Linked DNA regions of Homo sapiens: all the other regions are linked to region 2. Evidence: promoter capture Hi-C in 16 types of primary human blood cells and fetal thymus (Javierre and others, 2016). All regions are on one chromosome and are shown on one strand. The core of a region is centred on a gene start or on the middle of the fragment in contact, and the rest is flanking DNA. Distances in the headings are between cores, read along the strand shown. Region 1 has its middle 62 kb from the start of ZNF93. Region 2 holds the start of ZNF14 (zinc finger protein 14). Region 3 overlaps LOC124904665 (a long non-coding RNA gene).

Evidence for each region. Contacts are between HindIII fragments. The CHiCAGO score rates a contact against its expected background, and 5 or more counts as called.
Region 1: a contact is called between a fragment that was not itself captured here and the fragment with the promoter of ZNF14 in region 2, in 1 of 17 cell types (naive CD4 T cells). The highest score is 5.5, in naive CD4 T cells.
Region 3: a fragment that was not itself captured here is called in contact with the fragment with the promoter of ZNF14 in region 2 in 1 of 17 cell types (non-activated CD4 T cells); the score reaches 5.1 in non-activated CD4 T cells.

Annotation. Positions count from the first base shown.
Region 1 is chr19:19,961,466-19,965,025 of GRCh38, forward strand. It overlaps the pseudogene BNIP3P12. Among named protein-coding and RNA genes, the nearest start is that of ZNF93, 62 kb to the left of the region's middle. The HindIII fragment of the contact is 4,095 bases long and covers 1-3,399 here.
Region 2 is chr19:19,731,060-19,735,013 of GRCh38, forward strand. It overlaps ZNF14 (zinc finger protein 14), which reads right to left and starts at 2,053. Exons shown (of 4, transcript NM_021030.3): 1 at 1,897-2,053. The coding sequence starts at 1,899. RefSeq lists a silencer at 1,559-1,708. The HindIII fragment of the contact is 5,906 bases long and covers 715-3,954 here.
Region 3 is chr19:19,936,882-19,940,507 of GRCh38, forward strand. LOC124904665 (a long non-coding RNA gene) reads right to left here. Exons shown (of 3, transcript XR_007067170.1): 1 at 2,854-3,626; 2 at 2,685-2,781; 3 at 1,637-1,802. Among named protein-coding and RNA genes, the nearest start is that of ZNF93, 38 kb to the left of the region's middle. The HindIII fragment of the contact is 1,208 bases long and covers 1,708-2,915 here.

The DNA.
Region 1 (3,560 bases), core at 102-2,601, 230 kb after region 2:
TTCACTGTTATCACTGTTTCAACAAGGTTTCACCATGTTGGCCAGGATGGTCTCGATCTCCTGATCTCGTGATCCGCCCACCTCAGCCTCCCAAAGTGCTGGGATTACAGGCGTCAGCCACCATGTGGGGGAAAGAAAGAGAGATCAGACTGTTACTGTGTCTATGTAGAAAAAGGAAGACATAAGAAACTCCATTTTGATCTGTACTAAGAAAAATTCTTCTGTCTTAAGATACTGTTAATCTGTAACCCCAGCCCCAACCCTGTGCCCGCAGAAACATGTGCTGTATTGACTCAAGATTTAATGTATTTAGGGCTGTACAGGATGTGCTTTGTTAAAAATGTCTTTGCAGACAGTATGCTTGGTAAAAGTCATCGCCATTCTCCAGTCTCCCGTACCCAGGGACACAATGCACTGCGGAAAGCCGCAGGGACCTCATGCCCAAGAAAGCCTGGGTATCGTCCAAGGTTTCCCCCCACTGAGACAGCCTGAGATATGGCCTCATGGGAAGGGAAAGACCTGACCATCCCCCAGCCCGACACCCATAAAGGGTCTGTGCTGAGGAGGATTAGTGAAAGAGGAAGGCCTCTTTGCAGTTGAGATAAGAGGAAGGTATCTGTCTCCTGCTCATCGCTGGGAATGGAATGTCTCGGTGTAAAACCTGATCATACATTCTATTTACTGAGATAGGAGAAAATCACCTTATGGCTGGAGGTGAGACATGCTGGCGACAATACTGCTCTTTACGACACTGAGATGTTTGTGTAAAGTCAAACATAAATCTGTCCTACGTGCACATCAAGGCACAGCACCTTTCCTTAAACTTATTTATGACACAAAGTCCTTTGCTCACATGTTTTCCTGCTGACCCTCTCCCCACCATTACCCTGTAGTCGTACCACATCCCCCTCACTGAGATGAAAGAGATAGTGATCAATAAATACTGAGGGAACTTAGAGACCAGTGCCGGGTGCGGGTCCTCCGTATGCTGAGCGCCGGTCCCCTGGGTCCACCTTTCTTCCTCTATACTTTGTCTCTGTGTCTTATTTCTTTTCTCAGTCTCTCATCTCCACCTTGTGAGAAACACCCACAGGTGTGGAGGGGCAGGCCCCCTTCACCACCATGTGCAGCCCTGTTTTCCATGTTGATGCCCATGCATCTCTGCTTTCTCTTGACAGGCTATTTAATCAGCAGGAAGAAAAACAGGCCACAATTTCCACCATAACAGTAAACTTGAATGTGGATGAATAGATTACAATGTGTTCAAGCCTTGCAAAGAGAGGCATTATAGTGTATGGTGGTGTAATTGATAGTGATTACCAGGGAGAGTTAAAGGTCATTTTATACAATAACACTCCAGATTCTTTTGCTATAAAACTAGATGCTGGTTACTCAATTTTTAGTGGTACCCTTGTCAACAATTAACTCCTGAGGAAATCTCTGCCCCAACAGAGTCTACATACAGAACTGGGGGATTCAGATCCCCTGGTACAGGTAGCTTAAATCCTGGAGCCAAAATATGCATACAGCGTCCATCACATCTTGACCCTAAGGCTGGTGACCTTGTAGCTATGAAAGCGGGAAATGAAGGCATAGTACAATTTCCTAAAGATGAAAAATAAATCATGTTCCACTCCATTTTTGTTATTACAGGGAATAACCTATCTACTAATGGTCAGCACCTGTGTCTTTGTGTCTGAAGCCAAGAATAAATTCATCACCTGGGTAGCCACCGCTGCAACTGAAGCCATCCACAGTCAATGTTGGCTATATGTTGAGTTGCCGGAGGCTGCCTGGGATGGGCTATCTTGAAGAATCGTCCCTGACAACATTTCTGAATGGCTATATTGTTACCAGTAGGGCCACAACAACAACAACACTTGCAATCCAACCTGGGCTTCCTTTCACCACACTAAGCAATCTATCTTTGCCAGGTCAGACAAAAGATGAACTCCACCCTCACCTTGCATCAAAAGTCTTGATATCTTGCCCAATAATCCTGGAACAATATACACTGAAAACCTGCTGTGCTGGTGGCTGGATTCCATACAGGCTTCGCTTTTTCTGGAGGCCTTAAATGGCTCCTCTAATGTTTCTTTGGGGTTTCTTCAGACATTTGTCAACACATACTCCAAATCAACAACACTGCCCCCCAATGAACCACAATCTCTTTCCTATTTTAATAACACATTAGTACACTATGATTACAGTAGCTCCATTGCTGTCCCCTGGGGGGCCCTCTGGGTATGCAGATCCTATGGGTTGCAATACTGTCCCTGCATTGGATGGGAAGATGCACTTGAGGGTGGACATTAATTCCATTCACTATCCGGGATAATATTCCCTTCCCCAGTAATCTAGATGCTTACAAACACCACTGGTTACAAATGTGCTGGTCTCCCTGGTGGTGGTACCCTATCACAGTATTCTCCCCTGCCACCAGTACATTCCTCCTTCACCAACACATTAAAATATTTACCTTACATGTAGAAAAAGCTCTTAATGATAGTAGCACTGAACTTGTGTTGTTATCAGATGAATTTGCTCAGCTGCGTACTATTGTGTTGCAAAATCAAATGGCATTAAAAATGCTTACCGCAGCCCAAGGAGGGGTTTGCACGTTACTGCAAACTGAATGTTGTGTGTATATCTCTGGTAATTCTCACAATATGACTCTCCTTGGAAAGCCATGCTGAGTGTGGTTTTTATTAATTGTGCTTTTAATTCTCCTGTGTTACCCTGTATCTGTAATCTATATCAATTATGCCTTTTCCATGTATCTGAGAGGGTATTTTCCTACAATTGAGTATCCAATTGAGGCCAAATGTGGAGGGAAAGTTAAATATTAAATTTGAACTAAATTGAATGTGGACACAAATAATGGTCACCAAGTCCTGGCAGAGGTTGTGTGAGCCCCTTGAGGCGTTCATCCAGTGCTGTTTCAGAAAAAAATCTTTATTTCAATCTATTCCTATACGTTAGAAATTGAAAAACAATAGGCAATCCCAAAAACAAGTTGGCCTTTTTGTGTTCCTTGAGCCCAGTCACAAAGGGCCCTTGTGACTGAGCCTCATGCCAAACAACTTGTTACAAAAAGAGCTAGGGTCCAAGACCGCACCAAGGCTTCAAGAGACCTCTCCTCGTTTGTGCATGGACGGGTGACCGCCTCCGGAGCCCAGGCTGTTTCTTCCTGCTGTGGTGACAAATCCTCCATAGTATGGTGAGTGCGGTGTCTGACTCTGGAGCCCAGGCTGTCACTTCCCTGTCTGGTGACAAATCCTCCATAGTCTGATGAGTGTAAATATATATACATGTTTTTTCCCTTCTCCCCTTCCCATTGCAATTTGCTTATTATATCAATTTGCTTATTATATGTGCATGGCCATTTACATGGAATAAAGCTTGTTTACCCTTAACGGTATTGTGTATGTGTCTTTTCTTCTCCCCTCATGCATTTCCTACACAGAACACCATATTTCTCAGAGGCTTTGTTTGCTCCTTTTAATTCTTTTTTCTGTAAACTTGTCTGCATGCCTCATTTCGGCAAGGTGGTCTTCAAA
Region 2 (3,954 bases), core at 803-3,302:
TGAATTAAGATGAGGAGACTCACAACTAGCTTTTGACCCAAGTACACAGACAGATAAAAGATATAATCTACAAATAACCACCTTAGAAAAACCATTATTTATTGATTATTTTATACAAAAATAATTAGTATTCCAATTCTGAAAAACTATATACTACACCTTTCAGGATAGGGTACCCAAACTAGATATGGTACCCAAACTGACATATCAGCATCAAAAGAATACCCACAATCAGCCAGGCGCGGTGGCTCATGCCTGTAATCCCAGCACTTTGGGAGGTTGAGGCAGGCAGACCACCTGAGGTCAGGAGTTCAAGACCAGCCTGGCCAACATGGTGAAACCCCATCTCTGCTAAAAAATAAAAGAATTAGCCGGGTGTGGTGGTGGGTGCCTGTAATCCCAGCTATGCAGGAGGCTGAAGCAGGAGAACTGCTTGAACCAGGGAGGCAGAGGTTGCAGTGAGCTGTGATCATGCCGTTGCACTCCAGCCTGGGCGACAGAGTGAGATTCCATCTCAAAAAAAAGAAAAAAAACAACAACAAAACTACCCACAATGACTCTAGACTTAGGAACCTTCCACTGGTTAATTGCTCAGAGAAAAACACACTGACCTATTACAACCACACGAGGAAAGAAAAAATCACAACATACACTTACAATCAGAATGTATCAAAGTGGTGTGTGTCATAAACATCACTCTCACAAACACCTCAAAGCTTACCACTTAGCCGGGCGCGGTGGCTCACGCCTGTAATCCCAGCACTTTGGGAGGCCAAGGCGGGCAGATCACAAGGTCAGGAGATCGAGACCATCCTGGCTAACACGGTGAAACCCCGTCTCTACTAAAAATACAAAAAAATTAGCTGGGCGTGGTGGCGGGCGCCTGTAGTCCCAGCTACTGGGAAGGCTGAGGCAGAATGGCTTGAACCTGGGAGGCGGAGCTTGCAGTGAGCTGGAGATCGCGCCACTGCACTCCATCCCGGGCGACAGAGCGAGACTCCGTCACACACAAAAAAAAATGCTTACCACTTATATACGGAACAAATGACATACAGAGATTTTGCATCATCATGGCACTCCAACATAGGCGAAATCTCTTGGGTAGAAACCACACAGATAAACACACACAAACAAGAAAATTTAAAAGAACCTGAACAAGCTCACAATTAATTCCATCCAGAAACCAAAGAAACTAAAAATCGCACACATTCACGCAAGGGAACAAAATTACCCAGAGCGAAGGGAAACTGGAATTAAGGGTGGCTAGAATTAATATTTGATCAAGGAGTCCAAAGGGAAGAAACACAAACTTTCTGATCAGTTAAGATAAGGAGTCCCCTTCCCCGCAGTTCGAAAAGAAAGCCCACATTCAGAAGGTCAAAAACACCCCCAGACTTGAGTGCTGGGAGCACTAGAGGGGGTCAGTCCCTGGTGATGAGGGCAGGGGCGTTTGAACAGCCACAGGAACCTGACCCCGGCAGCAAGGACCTAGCCAGGCTTCGGTTCTCACAAGTGAGGAAACGCACCCGTGGATTCATCGTAAGGTTTCCAACCAAGTGGTTTCTTAAACGCACAAACCCCACAGACCGAGATGGGATCTCCCCAGGACCCTCCCGCTGTCACCGAACAATCCGGGGAGACGCGGGGCTGCGGGCGCAGAGCTGCCCATAGAGGGCTCCAGGACCGGGGGCCGAGGTCGCCCCGCGGGGACGGGACAGGACGCTGGGGCTCCCGGCTGCGGGTCCAGCTCCCACAGAGAGGACCGAGGGCCGAACTGCGCCCGCGGTGGCCCCCGGGTCTGCAAACCCCGGAGTTGACTGCAAGGAGGTCCCCGGCCTCGGCCACAGACGGTTCCAACCAGAAACCTCCCCTCGGACACTGGCCCCGCACACTCACCATTTCCCAGCGTCCGGGAAGTCACGGTGTCCTCCCTACGGATCTGTCAGTACCTGCAGGTCACGGCGCGACAAAGGATGCGCTAGAGCCACCTTCGGCCTTCAGGAGCAGGTGAAACGCAATCTTCCCATGGGCCAGGAATGGCGACGTCCGCACTGCGCAGGCCCAGCGTGGCGCCGCTCACATCTTTTCAGCTGAGGTCCTGATTGGACAGATCCAATGGCCCCGCCTCTTTATCACTGAGTGACAGCGGAGCAGGAAGGGGCGTGGTTGAGCTGGCCTGGCTTCAGTCCGGCTTGTCCCCGCCAGGACGTTTGCGTTTAAACCGAATGTGTTCTTTGCCTCCCATCCATTTTAAGTGTTCTCTTCAGTACTGTTAAATACATTCACATTGTGAAGCCAATTTCCAGAATTGTTTTCATCTTGCAACACTGAAATCTGTCTCGTTGCACAACTCCCCGTGCACCTCCTTCCCTCAGGGTCTTTTGCAACCTCCATTCCATTGTCTGAGTTCGTGAATTTGACTGTGGGAATCTCATGTAAATGGCGTCATAAAGTATTTGTCCTTTCCTGACGTGCTTATTTCACTTAGCATAATGTCCTCGAGCTTCACCTTGTAGTATGTGTTAGGATTTATTTCTTCTTTTTTTTTTTTTTTTTGAGACGGAGTCTCGCTCTGTCGCCCAGGCTGGAGTGCAGTGGCGCATCTCGGCTCACTGCAAGCTCCGCCTCCCGGGTTCACGCCATTCTCCTGCCTCAGCCTCACGAGTAGCTGGGAATACAGGCGCCCGCCACCACGCCCGGCTAATTTTTTGTATTTTTTTAGTAGAGACGGGGTTTCACTGTGTTAGTCAGGATGGTCTCGATCTCCTGACCTCGTGATCTGCCGGCCTCGGCCTCCCAAAGCGTTGGGATTACAGGCGTGAGCCACCACGCCCGGCCTCTTCTTCTTTTTTTTTTTTTTAAGAGACAGGGTTTTGCTCTGTAGCCCAGGCTGAAGTGCAGTGGTGTGATCATTGCTCACTGCAGGCTTCAACTCCTGGATTCAAGCAAGCCTCCAACCTGAGCCTCCTAAGTATCTGGGACTACACGCACGCACTACCAGGCCTGGCTAATTGTTTTAATTTTAATTTTAATTTTTGGTAGAGATGTGTGTCTCCTTCTGTTGCCCAGGCTGGTCTCGAACTCCTAGGTTCAAGCAATCCTCCTGCCTCGACCTCTCAAAGTGCTGGGATTACAGGTGTGAGCCACTGCCACCGGCCAATTTACTTCTTTTTTTTTCCTTTGGAGATGGAGTCTCGCTCTCGTTGCCCAGGCTGGAGTGCAGTGGCGCTCAGCCACCGCAACCTCTGCCTCCCAGGTTCAAGTGATTCTCCTGACTCAGCTTCCTGAGTAGCCAGGATTACAGGCGCCCACCACTACTCCCGGCTGATTTTTGTATTGTAGTAGAGATAGAGTTTCACCATGTTGGCCAGGCTGGTCTCGAACGCCTGACCTCAGGTGATCTGCCCTCTTTGGCCTCCCAAAGTGCTGGGGGTGTGAGCCACCTCGCCTGTCCCCAATTTACTTCTTTTTAATGCTTTATTTAAACATTTTTTAAAGAGTTCCTAAATTAGTCAGTTCCTAAATCTACATACAATAGAATAGAATTGTATTCTATTGTATGTAGATATCAAATTTCTGGATTTTTCTGGATCTATTTATCTTTCTTTCTTTTTTTTTTTTTGAGACAGTCTTGCTCTGTTGCTCAGACTGGAGTGCAATGGCGTGATCTCGGCTCACTGCACTCCACCTCCTGGGCTCAAGCAATCCTTGTGCCTCAGCCTCCTGAGTAGCTGGGGTTACAGGCATGTGCCACTATGCCCAGCTAATTTTTGTAATTTTAGCAGAGATGGGGTTTCGCCATGTTGCCCAGGCTGGTCTCAAACTCCTGGGGTCAAGAGATCTGCCCACCTTGGCCTCCCAAAGTGCTGGGATTACCGCATGAGCCACCTCGCCCGGCCTTATTTATCCTTTCCTGGACACCTAGGTTGCTTCTGCCTTTGGCTATGGTAAATA
Region 3 (3,626 bases), core at 1,062-3,561, 210 kb after region 2:
TGAACTTGAAGGAAGTTCACTGAAAGAAAAGTAGAATCCTTAGAGAATTTAAAAGCATAAGACAGAAGATGCCCCTTTGTGAGAGCAAAATTTAGAAACAAAAAAAACAGCTGCTCAGGAAATATTTCCTTTGGAATACAACTTCCAAATTAGATTTTAAGAACTGGTTTTCTCTTTGACTTTGAGACTTCTTACCTGTGTTTTCCGTTGTATTCATTTTCACTCATACCTACCTGGGGGGTTGGCAATCATCTCATGTCTCTTCAGAGCCAAAGGTTTTTTTCCCTGCTCCAGATGAGTGATCAGGTCTGGCTTAGAGACAACAATACTGTTGTATTAAGAATAAATAACATGAATCGTGCTCATATTCTCCAATTACAAGCTAGTAATGTGTTCAGTAGAGAGGATGTGATAAAATATTCTAGTAAATTAATTACAAAATACTAATCTATAACAAATTTCTAAATATTTAGAAAATGCTTTCAATTTGTAGGTTTCTTAATTTTACTATCTAATACTACTGAATCAAAAATTGGTGGCAATTAGATTTTCAGGTGGGGGCAAGAATACTTTGTCACTAAATTTTTGGAATTACCACTAATTTAGAGTGAATTATACAGCTCAAATCAGGAATGTGGAAAGTTTGGATTAAGATGAAACATCTTGAAGAGACTTTTCTGCATGAGCAAATTTTGAAGATTTTCTGAAAAAAGGGGATCTGAAACTCTTTTATGCAAAGAATAGATTACTAAAAAGTTCTACATAAAAGAGAAATAAAACCTTTAGGGTATATTATGAATTATGTCTTAAAGTTATCCTCAACAAGAAAGACCATATTTCCATAGTTCTCTAACATCACATTCGTATACAACTTCCGCTGTACAGTGTCCAGGCAATGCCACTCCTCCAGAGATAATTCTATGGCCACATCTCTAAATTGCAATGGTCCCTGAAGAACACACACATTTTTACCAAGTGGCCAGGTGTGGAATTTTTAATTTGACTTAAGGTGAAATGAGAGAGTAAAGAGAAGTGGTTCTGACTTATAGCACTGACTAAAATTATCCAATAAAATAATTTTCAAAACAGAAATATTATTCTCTAACTATGATAAAAAAAAAAAAGCACCATAAGATCCAGAACAACAGTTCATATATTTTATTTTTCTAGATAATAAAGTATAAAATTAAGGGCATGAACACGAACATGTACATTTTTGAGTGCTATATTTACATCATACGGAATGAGTTGTGAATATTTTTCAGATGGAAAAGACATTCACTTAGGCATTTCTCAAATTTATTATGTACAATAAGCTGAAGACCTTATGCAGGTTTTTTTTTTTTTCCAAGAAGATCTGGAGTAAGTCTGATTTACGTATTTATTTCCTTTTCTTTTTTATTTGAGACGGAGTTTCATGCTTGTTGCCCAGGCTTCTGTGCAGTGGCATCATCTTGGCTCACGGCAGTGTCCCCCTCCTGGGTTCAAGCAATTCTCCTGCCTCAGCCTCCTGAGTAGTTGAGATTACAGGCATGTGCCTCCACGCCCAGCTATTTTTGTATTTTTAGTAGAGACAGGGTATTCTCCATGTTGGTCAGGCTGGTCTCAAACTCCCAACCTCAGGTGATCTGCCTGCCTTGGCCTCCCAAAATGCTGTGATTACAGGCATGAGCCAGGGCTCCCCGCTGATTTTTTGAATTTCTAACAAGCTTACCAGTAATGCTAACGTTTTTGGCCTAATAAGGATATTTTGTCAAAGATCCAGTAAGTGGTAGAGCCTGTGTTTTCCCAGTTTTTCTAGCCTGTAAACAAAGATAAGAGCCTTCATTTTCTAAAGAAAAATATGTAGAAAAAATAAAAGGAGAACTGCCAGATTAAATGTGATCACTTGTGTAGAGCAGCTGCATAAAGATAATTATGAAGAGAAAAATAGTTATCTCTACAGTGAAAAAAATCAATCAGCTATTTCACCAAGTGAATCATTAACCATTAACTGCACTAGGACAAATTTTTATGATGTGCTACTGCACACAGAAGAACACAGCATCACTGTTGAAATATTCCTCCCCAAAACAGTAAACTAGTCTGAATTTAACCATAAACAACAGTTTATGCAAACTTCAAAATACAGGTAACTCCTATGTTCTGTAATTTTTAGTAGGAATTTTAATTAGGCTTCATTTAGCACCCTAGAGAGCAAGTATCTCCTAATAATTTTTTTCAGAACTTTCTGGGTAATAAATGCCATTCCATTTAAATCAGCATTTTCTTAATCCTCTTCTGCATAGAGCTAATGGAACACACAGCTGGAGCCTCAACATTACATGTTCTCCATCTTTACTAAGGGCCACAGTTTTCCCCAATAGAAACCTTGAGTATCCACATCTTTCCATGTTCAACAGCCACAAAGGGAACATTTTTAATATTGCAGGTCATAAATTCTTGCGGAGCATTCTGCATGGCATATAAGAAGCTATGACGTACAGAATGTAGAGAAGTCTGTGGGACATAGGACAGAAACGTTTTCCAGAGACCCTTGACTATCATAAGAATTTTAAGAAGTAGTTAAACCAAACTCCTTAGGGAGGAAAAACACAAGTAGAGAAGTAAAGGTTTGTGAGTACTAAACGCATGGCAGTCCAGGAGGCAGAGTGGACACAGCTCTTCATCTGACACATGTTTACCTGAAGAAAAGCCATTTTTTTCTTTCTCCTCCTCCTCTGGAATTCCTTCTCAGATGAGATTCTCTGGACAAGTTACACCTGCATATGGAGAATATGCCTTTAAAGGTGTCAGTACCACATTTACCTGCTAGTATGACATCAACTGGCAGAAAAAGAAAAATTCACTTACTGCTGTCTTTTAAACAGAATAGATTCAGGAATAATGAGCTGCTCCATGAAGACAAAAATATAAGCTTCTCCTTTCCTGTCCTCAGGTGCCCTCCCCTGCCAGAGACTCCAGCAATTTCTGCTACAGTAATGGAAATATGCACCACACTGACCTGTCCCTACCAAACCCAAACAGAACAGGCCCTGTGACCACCCTTTAGTGCAAAGGTGGAACTTAACTCTCGAAAATGTATTTTGAAGCCTTCATACTTGATTCTGGCCTCACCTTAGAGTCACATGAGGCCCTTCATTAAAACAACATGGATCCTTCCACCCAGAACAATAAACAGAAGCTGTGGGGAGGGCACAAGTATAAATCACTTGGTAATTTTGGTCCCACATTATGTAAGGTGATTCTGCAGGTTTGAAAAGGGTTTATGAAAGAGTGTTTTAAACAAGTCTCCTGTCAATGCTGATGTTGCTCCCCCTTGGCTCATTATTAGCATTAGAGAAAGCAGGCAGAGCACAGGGTCCCTTACACTTAACACCCTTCTCACAACCAAATACTTGTCGTGCAAATAAGGACAACCCATCTCCATCCTAAAGTTTTATATTCTTTGCTGGCTCTTTAAGTTTATAGAGGAAACAGAAGGCAGCAATGTTTGAATAAGTCTGGGTTTAAAAAACAACATGTACACATGTACTACTGCAATGTTTATTAAGCAAGTACTATGTGCTCAAGAGTATGATACAGAGCACTGTGCTGGGCATAACACATTATGTGATTTAATTCTC